Linked DNA regions of Homo sapiens: region 1 is linked to region 2. Evidence: promoter capture Hi-C in 16 types of primary human blood cells and fetal thymus (Javierre and others, 2016). All regions are on one chromosome and are shown on one strand. The core of a region is centred on a gene start or on the middle of the fragment in contact, and the rest is flanking DNA. Distances in the headings are between cores, read along the strand shown. Region 1 overlaps FNBP1 (formin binding protein 1). Region 2 holds the start of GPR107 (G protein-coupled receptor 107).

The links. The method cuts DNA at HindIII sites, captures the fragments that hold promoters and counts their contacts. A CHiCAGO score of 5 or more calls a contact.
Region 1: a contact is called between a fragment that was not itself captured here and the fragment with the promoter of GPR107 in region 2, in 8 of 17 cell types (activated CD4 T cells, total CD8 T cells, total B cells and 5 more). The highest score is 8.1, in activated CD4 T cells.

What each region holds. Positions count from the first base shown.
Region 1 is chr9:129,960,180-129,964,772 of GRCh38, forward strand. All of the region lies in intron 4 of FNBP1 (formin binding protein 1), which reads right to left. Among named protein-coding and RNA genes, the nearest start is that of FNBP1, 81 kb to the right of the region's middle. The HindIII fragment of the contact is 5,643 bases long and covers 1-4,487 here.
Region 2 is chr9:130,052,140-130,056,667 of GRCh38, forward strand. It overlaps GPR107 (G protein-coupled receptor 107), which reads left to right and starts at 1,767. Exons shown (of 18, transcript NM_020960.5): 1 at 1,767-1,934. The coding sequence starts at 1,794. It also overlaps a transcript of FNBP1 not described here. RefSeq lists a silencer at 1,755-2,064. The HindIII fragment of the contact is 2,204 bases long and covers 1-1,938 here.

The DNA of each region.
Region 1 (4,593 bases), core at 416-2,915, 92 kb before region 2:
TAGCCTGGCCAACATGGTGAAACCCTGTCTCTACTAAAAATACAAAAACTGGCCGGGCGTGGTGGCGTGGACCTGTAATCTCAGCTACTCCGGAGGCTTAGGCAGGATAATTGCTTAAAACCTAGGGGGCTGGAGGTTGCACTGCACTGAGCCGAGATCGCGCTGCTGTACTCCAGCCTGGGTGACAGATCAAGACTCCATCTCAAAAAAAAAAAAAAAAAAAAGAAAAAGAAAAAGAAAAAGAAAAAGAAAATTGCTGCTATAAACACTTGAGTAAGAGTTTTGAGTGTTTTGTGTGCATGGCTGTTTTCATTATTAGATTATTTTAAATATAAAGATAAATTTCCCTCCTGGCCATCTGCAAAGGCCCTGAGGCAGGCTCTGGTGTGGTGTTAACCTGGCGGCCAGATCTGGAGGAGCCTCGGGGAGAATATCATATGAGGTCAGAGAAGAAAGAGGGAGTTGTATAGGGTCTTGTAGGCTTTTTTGCCTGAATGAACCAGAGTCGATGAGTAACTCTAAGATGTTGTGAAGGAAAGATTTCAGATGGTGGGAGGCTTTTGTAACAATCCTGGAGATTACTGCAACTTGGACAGGTTGTAGGTAGCGAGCAGTGCAGGTGGTGAGAGGGGTCAGGTTTTGGGCACCTTTTGATCACCCAAACTTCCAGGATTTTCTGGGAGATAAGATGAGATGTGCAATAATGAGCTGCCCAGGGTGACTCCGAGGTTGTCAGTCTGAGCTTTAGGAGAAGGAAGACTGAGAGAAGTGGGTCTGAGGAGGAAGATCATACACGTAGTTTCACATGTGTTAAGGCTGATATTTCTATGAGACTCCCAAGTAGAGAGACTAGCCGAGCGTGGTGGCTCATGCCTGTAATCCCATCACTTTGGGAGGCCAAGGTGGGCGAACCACCAAAGGTCAGGAGTTCTAGACCAGCCTGGGCAACATGGTGAAACCCCGTCTCTACTAAAAATACAAAAAGTAGCCAGGCATGGTGGCGCATGCCTGTAATCCCAGCTACTCGGGAGGCTGAGGCAGGAGAATCACTTGAACTGGGAGGCGGAGGTTGCGGTGAGCCGAGATAGTACCATTGTACTCCAGCCTGGGTGACAGATAGAGACTCCATCTCAAAAAAACCCCCGAAAAACAAACAAACAAACAAGTAGAGAGACTAATATGTACTTGGACTTGTGGATCTGAGCTTAGGGAGCGGTCTGTACTAAAGACCAGTTTGGGAGTCTTCAGTATAAAGTGGATAGTTAAAGCCAGGAGACCAAAGAAGACAAAGATCCCAAGGAAGGAAGTGCTAGAAATATGCAGAAATGTTAAGAGAATGGTGTCTTTTTTTTGTTCAGTGACCTAAAATCACCAGTTCCCTAAATCCTTTATATATTTTATTTTTTGAGACGGAGTCTTGTTCCGTTGCCCAGGCTGGAGGACAGTGGCGTGATCTCGGTTCACTGAGACCTCTGCCTCCCTGTGACCTCTGCCTCCCGGGTTCAAGTGATTCTCCTGCCTCAGCCTCCCTGGTAGCTGGGAATACAGGTGCGACCCACCACGCCCAGCTAATTTTTTGTATTTTTAGTAGAGACAGGGTTTCACCATGTTGGCCAGGCTGGTCTCGAACTCCCGGCCTCAAGTGATCCGCTTGCCTCGGCCTCCCAAAGTGCTGGGATTACAGGCGTGAGCCACCGTGCCCGGCCCCTAAATCTTTTAGTATCCTTCCACACTGTACCATCGCTGACTTGGTCAATGTCCTGCAAATTTCCCAGGTGCATTCTCCACCCTGTCTGGGTCCCCAGAGACTGACATGCAGGGATCTCATGAACCCTTGCCCTCTGGTTCTGATGAGATTTGCCACAAGGATGTTCTGAGTGATCAGAGGGCAGGAAACTGTACCTGCAGCTTCTCCTCACTGAGATGATACAGGTTGGCTGGGTCCTTGGACCAAAGGGCACAGCTCCAGTCAGGCAGTGCCCCGCATGCAGCTAACCTCAGAAGTTCCTCATCTGTGAAATTCCTGGAAGGCTCCTCCAGCCCTGTGAGGCCTGGGGGCAACATCAGCTCCCCACTGTGACTTGCTCCAGGGTACTGAACCATCCTCACTGCTTTTCCTAAACTCTATCCGCCACGTTGTAAATGCTCCTTTTAATAACCGACCTTCCTTCAATTACTGAGTTTGAATGTGCTGTCTGTTTTCTGGCTCACAAGGTAAGCATTGGTGTTAGGGGTGCACTGCAGAGAAGGTCAGGTGAAGGAAGGATAAAAACAAAGAGGTCCACTAGGTAGAGCCTCGGAGCTTTTCCCGTACCTCGTCAGAACCTAGGATTTAGCGGAGTCAGAAAATGGAGCTGACAACTGGAAAGGCTGGGAAGGCAGAGACAACATCAGATTTAGAACAGTGCTCCTTTATAAGGGAATGTTTTCTTGTCTCTCTTTTGAGGTCGAGTTTCACTGTTTTAAGCGCCTCTTTGCAGTCAGTTTTATCTATCCAGCAATTTTTTGGTCTCTGCAAACCCAGGGGGAGCCCCTTGGGGCTTCGTTTTTCAGCTCTTGTAATGGACATAAGGATAGAACAGAAAAGAAGGGATCCAGGCTGTGGGAGAATTAAGAAGTAGAGCCAAGGACAGGGTTAGGGAAACTCTGGACCTTAGTGGAGAACGTATAGAAAATACAAGCGGGTTTTCTGAAAGCCACGCTTTCAGGGAGGACCCCCCAGAGACCAGAGCGTCAATTTCAAACCATCTGGGCTCAACTGTGCCCTTTTTGGAAGGCACCTCTGGTCCTGAAAGTCTTTATCGGGTGACTTCTCTGCGAAGAGAAAGATCCCATTTCCTAAGCCGGAGCACCGAGTTACGCAGTTTGCTGAAGAGATGCAGCCGCTCCCAAAAGTTTTACTTTGAGATTCAAAGACAGGAACAAAAAGAGAAAACCCCAGCACCAATTCAGAGCTGTACTCGAGGTTGACGATCTATCTCTCCAGCACCTCTGAAAGTGAATGTTTTAACAAAGTGAAAGCTCCCTCCAGCTTGGGGCAATGCTGTGGGTGGAGACAGGAAATGCACAGAAGCCCAGCAGACAATGACAGGCATTGCCTGGGACATGTCACCTGACTTTCATATAAAATAAATCTCTGAAGACAAGAGTCTTAAAAAAAAAAGTCTTATTTTAAAAACACGAGGGATGATTTTGATTGAAAAATCCATAGAGTGGTTCCCTTGCCACTCCTTAGTGTAAATATATAATAAATATGCATTTGTGTTTAAGGCACGGTGTGCACCTTGAATTTACTGGTAAGTTATCTCTCATGAAGACTGCTCAGCCACACCTCTCCCCACATTATTAAACCACTACCTGAAAACTGCAATTATCATCGTACCATTTCATGGGGCTTAGGAGATTGTGGGTGATGCCCATCTTCCTTCCTTCCAGCCTTTTTTTTTTTTTTTTTTAAAAAAACAAGTCTCTGTCACCCATGCTGGAGTGCAGTGGCACAATCTCGGCTCACTGCAACTTCCGCCTCCTGGGTTCAAGCAATTCTCCTGCCTCAGCCTCCTGAGTAGCTGGGACTACAGGCATGCGCCACCACGCCCGGCTAATTTTTGTGTTTTTAGTAGAGACAGGGTTTCACCATGTTGGCCAGGCTATCCTCGAACCCCTGACCTCAAGTGATATGCCTGCCTCAGACTCCGAAAGTGCTGGGATTACAGGCATGAGCCACCATGCCCAGCCCCAGCCTTTTTCACAGTACCTGTCCCTCTATCATTTATTTGGCCATAACATACGAAAAACTATCCGTGCTGGGGGATCCTTCAGGAAATTAAGGGAGGGAACAAAAGCCCTCCTTTGTGCTCTGTGCCTACCATGACCTGAATAGCTGGGGTTTGTTTCTAGCTCTATCTTCGCTGCTTTCACCGGAAAAGCTATTTTAACAGTTACAAAGTTAAACAAATAAACCAGCTTTGCCAGATGTATTTGTTGTTTACCAACAATGGCCGAACATTTCTTTTCTGGACAGTGAGCAAGTGTGTGTCTAAAAAGTGTGCCTGCAAGCACTAAAGAAGGAGGAATTGTTCTCCGGACAAAGATAAAAAGTGCTTCTTTTGGAGCCATAGAATGAAGTCATCACAGCTCCTTTCTCTCCTATCAGAAAAGAGACAGGAAATGCCATCTCTAGAGACCCAGAGAAATGCTTCTTACTTTCTGCTGTCATAAGATGCTTTTAGTTTCTTTTAAAACATAATAATAAGCTAAAACAAACAAACAAACAAAAAAACCCAAACCCTAATAGTTTCTGGGGTGACAGCTACACTTACTTATTTCAACTTTTTAGTTGAAATAAAAGTCTACACAGATCAAATCACCCTTCAAATTTTTTAAAGAAATTTCCCAGTGAACAGAGGTGGCTGAGATTAAAAAAAAAAAAAAATCACAGAGAATCTAAAATAAGCAAGCATTAACTTTAAGAAAAACGACAATGGCAAAGCTTTTGAGACAATTTTACTGAACTGCAAGAAATCACAGACAGAACAGACAAACTCACACAAATGCTATGAGAATGTTTAGTATTCACACTGCAATTAGGTACAA
Region 2 (4,528 bases), core at 517-3,016:
GTCAGTTTTCCCTCATTCTTATTCCTCTCAATTCCAAAATAATGACTGGCACAATACAGCTTTCAAATATGTGAAAGAAGAAGATATCCTCTTAAACCCCTGGACAGACAGCACTGGTATGACCCTATGTAGGTCACATGATAATACCCAAGTATAGAGAAGCAAGGAATGCTATGAACCCAGTTTTAAGCCCTTATAAAACTGTTGTCCAGAAACTAAGACAAAAGTCTCCTATTTAAAACTATTTTAATGTTTCATCACTATTGTATTATAAAATGGGATTAAGATTCTTACCTGATTTTTTTTTTATTGAGACAGAGTCTCACTCTGTCACCCAGGCTGGAGTGCAGTGGCATGATCTTGGCTTACTGAAACCTCTGCCTCCCAGGTTCAAGTGCTTCTCCTGCCTCAGCCTCCCCAGTAGCTGGGACTACAGGCGCGCGGCCGTGATGCCCCGCTAATTTTTGTATTTTTAGTAGAGACGAGGTTTTGCCATGTTGCCCAGGCTGGTCCCGAACAACTGACTTTCAAGTGATCCGCCCGCCTCGGCGTTCCAAAGTGCTGGGATTCAGGCGCGAATCACCACCCTGCCAGGCCTCATTTCGTTTTTAGTACAGTATTATATTCAAATTTAAAACCAGAGATTTTCAAAGATGCCACTTAACTTTAAAAGATAAAAAGTACTCCAAAGCAGGTTGGGCGCAGTGACTCACGCCTGTAATCCCAGCACTTTGGGAGGCCGAGGCGGGAGGATAACTTGAGGTCAGGAGTTCGAGACCAGCCTGGCCAACATGGGAGAAACCCCGTGTCTACTAAAAATACAAAAATTAGCCGGGCGTGGTGGCGCAGGCCTGTAATTCTAGTTACTCCAGAGGCTGAGGCAGGAGAATCGCTTGAACCCAGAAGGCGGAGGTTGCAGTGAGCTGAGATCGTGCCATTGCACTCCAGCCTGGGTGACAAGAGCTAGACTCCGTCTCAAAAAAAAGAAGTTCCTATAATTTCTGAAAGAAGCAAAGAAAGTTTCCATACAGAATTAAGAGAAAAATGTTAAGACCCAGACTTGGGGTTGGATGAAATAGCATGAGGCAACAGAACACAGGAGTTAAGAGCTTCCGTGTGATTCCCAGCTCAACCTGGAGCAAATGACTTATTTCTCAGAGCCTCAGTTTGCTTACCTGTAAAGTAGGAATAATGATAATACGTACCTCCTAGCTCATCAAATTGTTCCAAAAATTAAATACAACAAAAGGCCTAACAAATTGCCTCATAAGGGCTCAATCAATCGTATTATTGCAACCATTTCGCTTGTATTTGAGTGTGAAGCGCCTAGAAAACCACAGGACCCCTACGGCGAGCCGGGAATTTTTAGATATTTTCCTCCGAGTCAACGCTCAGTGAAATCAGTTCAATCAGTGGCCCGACACCGTGCGGCTGACACAGCTTATCCCCCGACCCTGAGATCAGGGGTCCCCGGAGCCCAAGGTCGCTTCCAAAGCTCAGCGAGGCGGAGGTGCGGCCCGGGCTGGTCTGGTTCGGCCACCGTTGTTATGGCAACCGCCAATAGGTTGGCTTCATCTCTAACTGAAAGTCTGCACAGGAGCGGCCGATCGAAGGGCCCCGAGGTGGGCAGCACAGGCTCCTCGACGACTTCCTAGGTCGCAATCTCCAGGAAAACGACCACAGGGTCAGCGGAGCTAGCCGCCGAGCCCCGCTCCCCGGGCCCTTCCGGCGGCTGCGCCCTTTCACCCCGGACGTGGGCGGGAGAGGAAGCGGCTGGTGATGCTGGAACAAACATGGCCGCTCTGGCGCCCGTCGGCTCCCCCGCCTCCCGCGGTCCTAGGCTGGCCGCGGGCCTCCGGCTGCTCCCAATGCTGGGTTTGCTGCAGTTGCTGGCCGAGCCTGGCCTGGGCCGCGTCCATCACCTGGCACTCAAGGTAAAGCTTGGCAAGGCCGGGCCGGGGGGCGGAGGCCGAGGCCACTCCCCGGGTTTTAGGGCAACTTTGGCCCATTGGGGACCTCTGAGCCACTGGACCACCTCTTTGCCCCTGGCTGCGGCCTTTCACTGACAGGTGGCGGGGTCTGTGGGGAAGGCGGGTCTGGGCGGCGCTGGGGTCTTCGGGCTGACCGGCACGGGGCGGGAAGACTCGAGCTGAGGGAGGGGAAGGGGCTGAACTGTGGCGTTGCCCCCACGGACTCGGGAGGCTGCTCTTAAATCCCTGCTGGCTTCCCTGAATTCCTCACTCAGGGCAGCCCGATCGCCTTTCTTCTTTCTCCCCTCCAGCTTTTATGCTGGCTTTCCTTGTCCGCGGTCTCCGCTCTTCTGTGCCCTTGTACTGTACCGGCGGTTTGAAGGTACTTGGAACCTTAGCCTCAGTTTCCCATTTCGGTTTAGGGCGCTCTCTGGAGCGAGACTCTAGAGAAGGAATTTCAAATCTTGCTTAAAACACGTGACTGAGAATGTAAAGCCAGCATTAAGGTGTGTCTCTAATCAAAGGGCCTGCTTTTTCTTCCTCTATCCAGCCATTGTCTAGGGAAGAGAGATTTTTGATAAACCTAGAATGATACTCTGGATCTTGCTTTGTAACTAGCAGAGAAAAGACCTCTAAGGCTGAAACGCACCCTAAGGTGGTTCAGCAGTTTACTATATCTGGGAAATTGTCCAGGTGCTGTGGCTCATGCCTGTAATCCCAACACTGGGAGGCCTATGCAGGAGGATTGTTTGAGCCCAGGAGTTCGAGACCAGCCTAGTCAACGTGCTAAGGACCCCCTCCCCAAACCTGTCTCTACAAAAAATTAAAAATTAACCAGGTGTGGTGGCAAACGCCTGCAGCTTCTGGGGAGGCTGAGGCTGGAGGATCACTTGAGCCTAGGAGGTTGAGACTGCAGTGAGCCGTGATTACTCATTGCATTCCAGCCTGAGGAACAGAGCAAGACCCTTTCTCAAAACATATAAACAAAATTAGAGACATAGAAAAGTAAATTGTTATGACCCAAACTCTTGTACATTATTTTCATACCATACAGTCTTCTAAGAAGTGGAACTGTAGGCGGGGCGCGGTGGCTCACGCCTGTAATCCTAGCACTTTGGGAGGCCGAGGCAGGCAGATCACGAGGTGAGGAGATCGAGACCATCCTGGCTAGCACGGTGAAACCCTATCTCTACTAAAAATAAAAAAAAAATTAGCCAGGCGTGGTGGCAGGCGCCTGCAGTCCCAGCTACTCGGGAGGCTAAGGCAGGAGAATGGCGTGAACCTGGGAGGCGCTTGTAGTCCCAGCTACTCGGGAGACTGAGGCAGGAGAATGGCGTGAACCCGGGAGGCGGAGCTTGCAGTGAGCCAAGATCCCGCCACTGCACTCCAGCCTGGGCAACAGCGCGAGACTCCGTCTCAAAAAAAAAAAAAAAAAGAAGTGGAACTGTAGAAAGTTTGTCTTGTAAAAACACATTGTTTTAGCAAACTATGAAGCATTGTATTTTGTTAATGTAGAATTTAAAGAATACAGAATGAAATTAAAAGCCTGGCTTGACTGGGCACGGTGGCTCACACCTATAATCCTAGCACTTTGGGAGGCCGAGGTGGGCGGATCACCTGAGGTCAGGAGTTCGAGACCAGCCTGGCCAACATGGCAAAACCCCTCTCTACTAAAAATACAAATATTAGACGGGCATGGTGGCACATGCCTGTAGTCCCAGCTACTTGGGAGGCTGAGACAGGATAATTGCTTGAACCCGGGAGGCTGAGATTGCAGTGAGCAGAGATCATTGTGCCACTGCACTCCAGTCGGGGCGAAAGAACTATACTCTGTCTCAAATAAATAAATAAATAAATAAATAAATGCAAGCCTGACTGGATCCATACAACCTTACTTTTTGGTAACAACTTTTGTTGTTTGTAGGTAAAAATTATCCTGATTAAAATGGTTCAATCACAGGGGTGGGGGTGGGGCAAGTGAATTTTGACTCTTTGAGAATCTGTTGAGAGCTATAGAACCTCTCTCCAGAAAAGTGCATGTAGAAATGTAGACAAAACTTGGCCGGGCACGGTGGCTCACGCCTGTAATCCCAGCACTTTCAGAGGCTGAGGTGGGTGGATCACTTGAGGTCAGGAGTTTGAGACCAGCCTGGCCAACATTGTGAAATCACATCTCTACTAAAAATACAAAAATTAGCCAGGCGTGGTGGCAGGTACCTGTAATCCCAGCTACTCGGGGCTGAGGCAGGAGAATCGCTTGGACCCAGGAGTAGGAAGTTGCAGTGAGCCAAGATTGAGCCCCTGTACTCCAGCCTGGGCGACAGAGCAAGACTCCGTCTCAAAATAAATAAATAAATAAAATAAAATAAACATCCGAAGTCAGGGGTGTCCAATCTTTTGGCTTCCCAGGGCCACATTGGAAGATGAAAAGTTGTTTTGGGTCACACCTAAAATAGACTAACAGTAACCATAGCTGATAAGCTTTAAAAAATTGCAAAAAAATCTCATAATGTTTTAAGAAAGTTCACAAATTTGGCTGGGCGCAGTGGCTCACGCCT